Regions from separate parts of the Homo sapiens genome. Here regions 2, 3 and 4 are each linked to region 1. Evidence: promoter capture Hi-C in 16 types of primary human blood cells and fetal thymus (Javierre and others, 2016). All regions are on one chromosome and are shown on one strand. Each heading gives the region's core, a stretch centred on a gene start or on the middle of the fragment in contact. The rest is flanking DNA. Distances are from core to core; before and after follow the strand shown.

The links. Contacts are between HindIII fragments. The CHiCAGO score rates a contact against its expected background, and 5 or more counts as called.
Region 2: a fragment that was not itself captured here is called in contact with the fragment with the promoter of ADAMTSL4 in region 1 in 1 of 17 cell types (neutrophils); the score reaches 5.0 in neutrophils.
Region 3: a contact is called between a fragment that was not itself captured here and the fragment with the promoter of ADAMTSL4 in region 1, in 2 of 17 cell types (neutrophils and erythroblasts). The highest score is 7.4, in neutrophils.
Region 4: a contact is called between a fragment that was not itself captured here and the fragment with the promoter of ADAMTSL4 in region 1, in 4 of 17 cell types (erythroblasts, endothelial precursors, neutrophils and 1 more). The highest score is 9.4, in erythroblasts.

Annotation. Positions count from the first base shown.
Region 1 is chr1:150,548,091-150,550,773 of GRCh38, forward strand. ADAMTSL4 (ADAMTS like 4) reads left to right here and starts at 1,318. Exons shown (of 19, transcript NM_019032.6): 1 at 1,318-1,409; 2 at 1,732-1,805. LOC124904417 reads left to right here and starts at 2,200. Exons shown (of 1, transcript XM_047438226.1): 1 at 2,200-2,683. The coding sequence starts at 2,200. ADAMTSL4-AS2 (ADAMTSL4 antisense RNA 2) reads right to left here. Exons shown (of 6, transcript NR_187269.1): 6 at 474-660. RefSeq lists silencers at 503-797, 729-878, 1,049-1,188 and an enhancer at 2,524-2,683. The HindIII fragment of the contact is 42,411 bases long and covers 1-2,683 here.
Region 2 is chr1:150,860,690-150,863,372 of GRCh38, forward strand. All of the region lies in intron 1 of ARNT (aryl hydrocarbon receptor nuclear translocator), which reads right to left. Among named protein-coding and RNA genes, the nearest start is that of ARNT, 15 kb to the right of the region's middle. The HindIII fragment of the contact is 5,924 bases long and covers 1-2,683 here.
Region 3 is chr1:150,839,328-150,842,010 of GRCh38, forward strand. ARNT (aryl hydrocarbon receptor nuclear translocator) reads right to left here. Exons shown (of 22, transcript NM_001668.4): 6 at 114-327. Among named protein-coding and RNA genes, the nearest start is that of CTSK, 32 kb to the left of the region's middle. The HindIII fragment of the contact is 6,848 bases long and covers 1-2,683 here.
Region 4 is chr1:150,821,020-150,823,702 of GRCh38, forward strand. It overlaps ARNT (aryl hydrocarbon receptor nuclear translocator), which reads right to left. Exons shown (of 22, transcript NM_001668.4): 14 at 2,175-2,326. Among named protein-coding and RNA genes, the nearest start is that of CTSK, 14 kb to the left of the region's middle. The HindIII fragment of the contact is 2,409 bases long and covers 122-2,530 here.

The sequences.
Region 1 (2,683 bases), core at 68-2,567:
AAAAAAATTCACAAAAATAACATTACATAGCTGGGTGCGGTGGCTCACGCCTGTAATCCCAGCACTTTGGGAGGCCGAGGCGGACGGATCACGAGGTCAGGAGATCGAGACCATTCTGGCTAACACGATGAAACCCCGTCTCTACTAAAAATACAAAAAATTAGCCGGGCGTGGTGGCAGACGCCTGTAGTCCCAGCTACTCAGGAGGCTAGGGCAGGAGAATGGCGTGAACCTGGGAGGCGGAGCTTGCAGTGAGCCAAGATAGCACCACTGCACTCCAGCCTGGACGACAGAGTGAGACTCCGTCTCAAAAAAAATAAATAAATAATAATATAATAATAATAAACATAACGCAGAGTAAAAAGCAAAAGCCTTTTTCAGTCCTCCCCCAACCCTGCATCCCTCCCCAGATGTCACCAATACTACTGAGTTTGGGGTGCATTCTTCCATGTATAAATGCATAAAGAGACATATCCAAGCCCATCATATATATTAGATTAGTCCCATTTTGCAGATGAGCAAACTGCACCACACAGGGGTGGAAGTATTCGTCGAAGACCACATAGCTGGCAAGAGCTGGAGCTGAGGTTCAAATCCAGATCAGTCTGACTCAGAAGTCAGCACGCTGTCCTTTCGCTGAGTCCCGAGTGTAAAACCTTACTGAGGAAAAAAACCGAAGCTCATAGAAGTCCCAGCAATCTGAACCACCACTGCCCAACACGGGAGAGGCAGGAGTGACTGAGTTTGCAGGGGAGGCTGCGTGGAGGGGAGAGCCTGGACCCACGCGGATCGGGGGCCGCGGGTACCTCCGTCCAGGGCGCTTCCCTCCCGGACCAGCGGCTCTCCCAGGCCGCCTCGCTCCAGGCGCCCCTGGAGGCTGCCCCGCCTGTGCCGCGCCGCGCCGCGCCGTGTTCGCACCGCTCACCCGAGCGGCTCGGAGGCCCGGGTTGCTTAAGTCCCTAGTCTCAGCCGGGCACGAGGACAGCGCCCGGGAGCGACTGCAGCCTCTGACCCCGGCTGGGCCAGCCCGGGCTGCTTAAGTCCCTAGTCTCGGCCGGGCACGAGGACAGCGCCCGGGAGCGACTGCAGCCTCCGACCCCGGCTGGGCCAGCCCGGGCTTCAGCTCACGCAGCCGTCGGGGGGCGCCCGGCGCGCAGCCCGGGGTGGGTGGTCCTGGCGAGTGGGGCTGCGAGGCAGACCGGCCCCACCCCGGGGCCGCCGAGGGGCGCGGGCTGGGGCGCGTGGCGGGCGGGGCTGGGCGGGGGCGGGCGCGAGGGCGGAGTTGCGGCCGAGGCGGCCGTGACCGGAGCGCGGCTCAGGGGCCCCAGTGGCCGCCGCGGAGCGAGGTTGCCTGGAGAGAGCGCCTGGGCGCAGAAGGGTTAACGGGCCACCGGGGGCTCGCAGAGCAGGTAGAGACCTCCCCGGGACCCCGGCCCCGGCCGCCCCTCTCCCGGGTCCCGTTAGACCGCCCGCCCCGCGCGCCCGCGTCGTCCCCTCTCCCTGCGCTGTGCGGTCGCGACCCCGCCACGACCCCGGACCCAGCTCCGGTGGCCTCGGACAATCTTCCAGCCCCTGGGGTCGAATTCCTGGGGAGGGAGTCTGATCCCGTGGAACTCTGGCCCCATCACCCGGGCGGGGAGTGAACCAAAATTCCTCCTAAGTCACATAGTAAAGTTGGAAAACAGACCCATGACCTCCCCGCGCGGCCGGTGCCTCCTGCCCTCTCTCTAGGAGGGTGCTCTCGGACGGTGTGTCCCCCACTGCACTCCTGAACTTGGAGGACAGGGTCGCCGCGAGGGACGCAGGTGGGTGCCCTTGATCCAGCTCAGCCCGATGGCAGAAGAGGTTGACAAAAAAGAAAGACACCTGTTGGGGTGGCCTGCCAGACCCAGGAGTGGAGGGCTCTGAGGGCCCGGGAATTCGGACTCAGGACAGGGATTCTCCATGGCTAGGCCCAGAAACACAGGGTCCAACCACTCTCCAGCAGGGAGACCTGGGGGTGAAGGGGTGAGCCCTGCGCAGGTCTCTGTTCCTTGGTCTTCACTGGGCAGTGTGGAGAGGTGTGGCCAGGAGGAGCCCGCGTTTGTCCAGACCAGGGTCTACTCTGGCACCAGAGTGACCACCTCTGACCTCTCCTTTCCTCGTCCTGGGCCGGGAACGACACCAAATGAGGGACATGGAAAGGGGTGAGAAGCATAAATGTGCGTGTGTTTCTGCAGAGGAGGGGGCATGGGCCCCTGCCGGGCTGCGCAGGGGAGGGTGGGGTGGGACTTTTCCAGAGAGGGAGCCAGGCCTGGCCCGGGCCCCGGGAGCTCACGTCACCCCCACCCCTCACTTCTCCAGGGAACTGCCAAAGCCAAACCCAGCTCGGGATGGGATTATGTGTACTGGGTAGACCCGTGGAGAGGGGCTGCGAGAAGAGATCTCGGTGGCAGAGAGAAGCAGAGGCAGAGAGGGCATGAAGAGGGGTCGGCATCAGAGAAGGGGCAGGCAGTGACTATCACCCCATTTCTTCTTCCCTCAGCTGGAGTAACAAGAGTCAGGCAGAGCCTGAAGACTTGGGTGGAACATGGGCCCTTCTCTGGAGATCCTGGCCTCCCCCGTTCAGTCAGGGTGGAGTTGCTGACCTTAGTGGCCGGCCCAGCCAGGGGAAGGAGTGGCCATCGGCAACCCCCACCCCAAC
Region 2 (2,683 bases), core at 50-2,549, 310 kb after region 1:
TACTAAAAATACAACAATTAGCCAGGAATGGTGGTGGGCACCTGTAATCCCAGCTACTCGGGAAGCTGAGGCAGGGAGAATTAATTGAACCCAGGAGGCGGAGACTGCAGTGAACCAAGATCGCACCACTGCACTCCAGCCTGAGCGACAGAGAAAGACTCTGCCTCAAAAAAATAAACAAATAAAAAATAAAACAAAATATATAAAGAGCTCCTACAACTCAACAAAAAGCAAACCCAATTTTAAAATGGGCAAAGAACTTGAACAAGCATTTCTACAAAGAAGATATACTAATGGCCAATAAATACATGTAAAGTGCTCAACATAACCAATCGCTAGGGAAATGCAAATCAAAACCACAATGAGAAAGCATTTGCTACTCATTAAGATGACTATTATCCAAAAATATATAAATAAATAAAGGGTTGGCAAGGATGTGGAGAAATTAAAACCCTTATGCACTGCTAGTGGAAATGTAAAATGGCGTAACAGCAATAGAAAACAGTATGGAGATGCCTCCAAAAATTAAAAATAAAACTGGGTGCAGTGGTGCGCACCTGTAGTCCCAGCTACTCGGGGTCTGAGGCAGGAGAATCTTGAGTCCAAGATCAGGCTGGGAAACACAGCAAGACAACATCGCAAAAAAAAAATTAAATTAAAAATAGAATTACCACATGATCCAGCAATTCCACCTCTGGGTATATACCTGAAAGAATTGAAAGCAGGGTCTCAAAGAAACATTTGTATACCCACGTTCACAGAAGTACTATTCAACAGTAGTCAAGGGTGAGGGCAACCCAAGTGTCTATCTACAGGTTAACGGATAAAGAAACTGTGGGGCTGAACATGGTGGCTTACACCTGTAAGGCTAGCACTTTAAAAGGCCGAGGGAGGAGGATCATTTGAGTCCAGAAGTTCAAGACCACCCTGGGCAACACAGTGAGACCCTATCTCTAAAAAAAATGAACAAAATTGGCCATACATGTGGTATGTGCCTGATTACAGGCATGAGTCACCACGCCCAGCCAGGGTTTCGGTAATTTTTACCCAAAAAAAAGGGTCATACTATACAAACAGTCCTGACTTATAATGGTTCCATGTAGGGCTTTTCACCTTTATGATAGTGGGAAACCATTACAATTTCAGTGTAATGTACAGTGTTCTGTAAATTACATAATATCCAGTACTTTATTATAAAGTAGAATTTAAGTTAGATTATTTTGCCCACTGCAGGCTAATGTAAGTATTCCACACACATTTAAGGTAGTCTAGGCTAAGAATAGGTTAAGTGTATTAAATGTATTTTTGACTTAGGATGTTTTCAATTTACAATGGGTTTATCAAGCCATAACCCCACCATAAGTACAGATGTACTTATTCTGAACTTTTTCCCTTCCACGTAACAATATATTGCTATGGCAATAAATACACACGTAGATCATTCTTTTTAACAGTTACATAGTACTCTGTACTATAAATGTATAGTTATGACATTCAAACCTTCACTATTATAAATAATGTTTCAAGGAACATCATTGTGTATCTTCATGCACAGGTGCCAGTACTTCCATATTATTTCTGAAAATGACTCCCTGGGCCTAAGGGTAGACACATTTAAAACTCTGATTGCCCATTACCTGCCAAGGAGGTTATACCAATTTAAAGCCTCATCCACTGCATCAATTTAGCCATACCTCCAACAGCACTGTGTTTTGGGAATCCTTCAAATTTGTGGTCATTTTCTTGGTAAAAAACAATTACCACTGTTAGTTTAACATACATTAAGGCTGAGTATATTTTTATGTTACTGCTAATTTTTCTATTTCAGCCTATAAATTTGAAATAGTAAGCATATGTTACTTTCCTAAGAAAAAACACTTTTTCCATTAAAAAAAAAAGTTCAGGGCCAAGTGCAGTGGCTCATGCCTATAATCCCAGCACTTTGGGAGGTCAAGGCATGAGGATTGCTTGAGCTCAGGAGTTCAAAACTAGCCTGAGCAACATAGTGAGATCCTGCCTCTGTAAAAAAAAAAAAAAAAAAAAAAAAGTTCATACTTTTAGTAATACGTTTATATAGGATATAAGAGTACCATGGAGTCAAACCTGTAATCCTAGCACTTTGAGAGGCCGAGGCAGGCAGATCACGACATCAGGAGTTCGAGACCAGCCTGGCCAATATGGTGAAACTCCGTGTCTACTAAAAATACAAAAATTAGCCAGGCATGGTGGCGCACACCTGTAGTCCCAGCTACTCGGGAGGCTGAGGCAGAAGAATCGCTTGAACACAAAAGGCGGAGGTTGCAATGAGCCAAGATCGTGCCACTGCACTCTAGCCTGGGTGACAGAGCAAGATTCCGTCTCAAAAAAAAAAAAAAAAAAAGATTACCATGGAGGCCAGGCACGGTGGCTGATGCCTGTAACCCCAGCACTTTAGGAGGCTGAGGTGGGTAGATCACTTAAGGTCAAGTTTGAGACCAGCCTGACCAACACGGCAAAATCCCGTCTCTACTAAAAATACAAAAATTAGTCAGGTGTGGTGGTACACGTCTATAATCCCAGCTACTTGGGAGACTGAGGCATGAGAATCGCCTGGGAGGCAAAGGCTGCAGTGAGCCGAGATCATGCCACTGCACTCCAGCCTGGGCAACAGAATGAGACTCTGTCTCAAAAAAAAAAAAAAGAG
Region 3 (2,683 bases), core at 110-2,609, 290 kb after region 1:
TTTTCCCATTGTCTGACTTCTTCCTGAAAAGCTGAATTCTTGTCCAAAAAACGAAAACTTTCAAGAGATTCACCCAGATTCCAGACTCTCTCAGAACTATAAGTCCCAGAGACCTGATCAGTGAGGAAAGACGGCTTATAGGAGCCATCAGTGGATGTGTTGCCAGTTCCCCGCAAGGACTTCATGTGAGAAACTGCCATGCGTAAGATGGTTAGCTTGTCTGGTTTTCGAGCCAGGGCACTACAGGTGGGTACCATATCTGACAGTTCTGTGATGTAGGCTGTCATCTTGTTCCGTCGCCGCCGTTCAATTTCACTGTGATTTTCCCTGCATGGAAAGAAAGAGAAGCCCCATCCAGGTGGTCACATCTGGTCATTTGGTAGCAGGGAGAGTGATATGGATACCAAGTGTGCTGCTGAAGAATGTGGTATTCAGATTTAGTGATGCTTAAGTCTCAGCAGTTAAAATAAGGTTTGCCAACCTTCTCATGCAAAGCAAGCATGAAACAGAACTAATAAGGCAGACAGAGAACAAGAAGATAATGTAATTCCCTTCCCCCTATTTCCTGGAAACTTCACATCCTTTGTAAATTACCACTCCCTCAGAACAAAAGCTGTTTTAAGAAACGACAGGTCAGGCATGGTGGCTCATGCCTGTAATCCCAGCACTTTGGGAGATGGAGGCAGGTGGATTACTTGAGGCCAGGAGTTTGAGACCGGCCTGGCCAACATGGTGAAATCCTGTCTCTACTAAAAATACAAAAATTAGCAGGGCACAGTGGCATGCATCTGTAATCCCAGCTACTTGGGAGGCTGAGACAGGAGAATCACTTGAATCTGGGAGGTGGAGGTTGCAGTGAGCTGAGATCACACCACTGCACTTCAGCCTGGGTGGCAGAGCAAGACTCCATTTCAAAAAAAAACAAAAAACAAAAAACAAGAGAAAAAAAAAGATAGTATTTTTAAATGCTGATTTTACTCACTTAAGTTCCTATGGAACATATAACCTCAGCTTGGTTAACTCCCATGCTTACTAATTCAACTATTTAAAGGCCAGAAAATAAAAGGACCAATTTTTGCCAACTCAAGTATGTGGCTCCATAGCTGATACAAGAATTGATAGTACAGATTTCCTTGGTCTATAAAATATGGTAAGCCTCTCTCTTATTTGCAACATTAAAAGGCAGAATTTGAAGATTTTGAAGTTTTATTTGGCCCATTAATGCACAAAGTCCTACCTTCTTTATCTGGGTGTGCTGCCAGTGCACTAAACTTCTTACAAGACTTAAGATACACCATCTACTAAAAGTCCCATATGGGTCCCCAGTCTGGGACGAAGTTAACTGGAGGAGTGGAATGGAGAGGAGGATGATTAAAGGTCTGACAAGACAATTTGAATCTCACCCAGGTAAATAGACCACAGCTCCAACACTGACTTCCTCAAAATTAAGACAGAAAGATATCACTGTTAACAGGAATAATCCAGCAGTTTTCCAACAGGAATTTTTAAAAGCCCATTAAGTTTCTCAGTGTCCTCCATGGGGATGCCTCAAGGAGATAATCATGCAACATGCTGCATTTCTGCTTCTACTCAAATATTTGCCTTATCTCTCTTCTTCTTTTTTTTTTTTTTTTTTTTTGAGATGGAGTCTTGCTCTGTCACCCAGGCTGGAGTACAGTGGCGGGATCTCGGCTCACTGCAACCTCCGCCTTCTGGGTTCAAGCAATTCTGCTATCTCAGCCTCCCAGGTAGCTGGGACTACAGGCGCACACCACCACGCCCAGTTTTTTTTTTTTTTATTTTTAGTAGAGACGCGGTTTCACCAAGTTGGCCAGGATATTCTCCATCTCTTGACCTCGTGATCTGCCTGCCTCGGCCTCCCAAAGTGCTAGGGTTACAAGCATGAGCCACTGCGCCCGGCCTGCTTTATCTCTTTTATTTATTTCTGTTACCACTTAAGAATTCTACTTGAACAAAAGTTCTTTGTCCAAAAAAAAAAGAAAGTAAGAAAATTAAAAATCTAACATAAATCTCTTTTTTCTGAGAAGAGCAAAGGGAGGTCAAGTAGGTAAGTGACTTTCCCCAGGCTGCTCTCTTCCCAATACAATGTTTTCTCCACCACATCATGCCAAATCCATTTTCTGAACAGTGAAAGGGTTAGTAAGAAGCTCGAGTTAAACTGGCAGCAAAATGAGTTTGTGACCCAGATTAAAGAGGAAATAGTAGAAAAAAGGGGGAATATAGTAAAAATGGGTATTGGCATCAATGATCTATTTCCTAAGTCACCCCCAAATCACAGATACTAGAAAACAGAAAAGTCTATGCATATTTCTTCTGCAGCATTTCTACATTACAAACAACAGTCTCCCAAGAGAATTCTAGAGTCTCCTTTCTAAATGGCAAAAAGGGTCTCACCACATAGGCCCATATTTAGTTACACTTTGCCTAAGACATAAAATTCTATTCTCAAACATAAAGCACTCATCTTCCTAGTATCTGACAGATTTCTGACACGTAAGTACAGAAACCTGGTCTTTTAAATAGCCACATCAAGGAAACTAAAACTTTTCTAGAAAACTACCGCAAGAAAGGATTCGGTCACCAAAGCAACACTAGTTCTGTTGTGAGAATAATCTAGGCTGTGAGTCTTCATAGGAAAATAGGTGTGAGTTTCCTAGAGGTG
Region 4 (2,683 bases), core at 76-2,575, 270 kb after region 1:
GTATGTTGTACGTATTATGTACTGTATTCTTACAATAAAGCTAAAGAGAAAATGTTATTAAGAAAATCATAAGGAAGAGAAAATGCATTTACAGCACTGTACTGTATTTATCGTTATCATAAGCTTATATCATCTTACAAGATGACTTACAAGATGAGTCATCTATATGAAGTGGCAAGCAACCACAGCTGCAGACTTCATTCTATAGTACATATCAAGCAATTCACCTTTTTCTTATAATGTCATGACTTTTCCCTGCTTCTTGGGAAGACTTCCAGCATCACTAGTGGCACTTCATACTGTTCCCAAATGTTATTCAAGGTTTCAGTATTGCACTCAACACGATGAAAAATATGCAAGAACCATGAGATTTCACTGTTTACTGCAATATGCAATTTACTGGAGTGAATTGCTCATGAAGAGATGATTAGCATCACACAGCATTTTAAGCAAACTGGCAACAATTGAGCAATAGGTGGCTACCAAATTATTACAACAGTACAGTATATACTATAGTTAACTTTACGCGGTTATGATTTAAAACTGCATCTTTACATTTGTTTACATTTCTCTCAACTACAAATGGTGCCATTGTACAAACGGTGTGTATGTATACGTTGTGATACATTTTTATTTTTATTTTTTTTGAGATGGAGTCTCCCTCTGTCACCCAGGCTGGAGTGCAGTGGTGCGATCTCAGCTCACTGCAACCTCCACCTCCCAGGTTCAAGTGATTCTCATACCTTAACCTCCCAAGTAGCTGGGACTATAGGCGTGTGCCACCATGCCCAGCTAATTTTTGTATTTTCTTTTTTTTTTTTTTTTTTTTTTCAGTAGAGACAGGGTTTCACCATGTTGGCCAGGCTGGTCTCGAACTCCTGACCTCAAGTGATCTGCTCAACTTGGTATCCCAACTTGGTATCCCAAAGTGATAAAGTGATGGGATTACAGGTGTGAGCCACTGCACCTGTCCAGCATTTTTACTTTTTATAATAGATTTGTATATGTTGTATGGTAGTAAATGATAAAATAGACTAGAATTTATATATATTTAATACATTCATGTATGACATGGCTAACTTTTTCTAATTTTTTCAATATATCCAGGCTATGTAGCTTATTTTTGGGTTTTTCAAATTGTCACAAATATCAAAAGAATTTTCTAATATATTTACTGAAAAAAATCCATGTATAAGTGGACCTGGATTTTTACCAATTAAAATCTTTGGAATCTTCAGTGTGATAAGTGTCTTTTTGTCTGCTAATGAGTTGACTGAGGGCTGGCAACCCCTAGGTAGCTTCAAGATGGGGGCTCATCTCTGGAAAGATCAAGGTAAAATTAGAGGGCTGGGACTTTTAGCCCTAACCCTCAACCTCATGGAGGGGAGCCGGTACCTAAGGTTAAGTTGATTACCAATGGCCAATGATTTAATCACTCATGGCTACATAATGAAATTTCCATTAAAACCCAAAAGGACTGGGTTTGAGGAGCTTCTTGATAGGTAAACACATGGAGATCCCCGGAGGGTAGCCCACCCAGAAAGGGTCTGAAAGCTCTGCACTCCTTCCTCCTTACCTTGCCCTATCTATCTCTTCATCTGATGTACAAAGTATCCTTTGTAATATCCTTTATAATAAACTGGTAAACATAGGTAAATGTTCCCTGAGCCATTCAAGCAAATTGACTGAACCCAAGTAGGGGGTCATGGGAGACAGCTGGTCAGTCAGATGCACAGGTAAAACAACCTGGGGCTTGCAACTGGCATCAGAAGTGGGAGCAGTCTTGTGGTACTGCATACACAAATTGGGGGATCTGATGCTATCTCCAAGTAGATAGTGAACTGAATTGAATGGAAGGACACCCAGCTGGTGTCCACTACTGATTGCTTGATTTCTTTTTTCTTTTTCTTTTTTTGAAATGGAGTCTCGCTCTGTAGCCCAGGCTGGAGTGCAGTGGCATGATCCCAGCTCACTGCAACCTCCACCTCTCAGGTTCAAGTGATTCTCCTGTCTCAGCCTCCAGAGTAGCTGGGACTACAGGCACATGCCACCACGCCCGGCTAAATTTTTGTGTTGTTGCTTGATTGTTTACCCCCCACATAGGGCATCAGAAGTGTTTTCTGTTGTGAGAACAGAGGAAAAACAGTTTTTTCACACTCCTGTATAATACATACTTCACATTGGTGTTGGTACAGATGATGTACTCAATTTCATCTGAGTAAGGGTTCTGGAAAGTAAAGGAGCTGGTTCTCATCCAGAGCCATTCTTGGTTCTTAGACCGGAACCGGAACATGACAGACAGCACTTGGCCTTTTAATTTCACTACCTGAAAAAGTTTTCATGCCATCAGTGGAACTCATAGAAAATTTTCATTACAAAAATAAATAAAAATTTTCCAATTTCTATAACCCTAAAACTCTTGTCATTGTCCTTGAGGCACCAATATTTTTCAATATTAAAACAAAATGAGAGTAAAAACTAAGTGATTAAACATGGAAGCATATTTCTCATGCTTCCTTTCAGAGACTTAAGCTTTTTTTTTTTTTTTTGAGACGGAGTCTCCCTCTGTCGCCCAGGCTGGAGTGCAGTGGCACGATCTCTGCTCACTGCAACCACCACCCCTCGGGTTCAAGCGATTTTCTTGCCTCAGCCTCCCGAGTGGCTGGGACTACAGGCGCGTGCC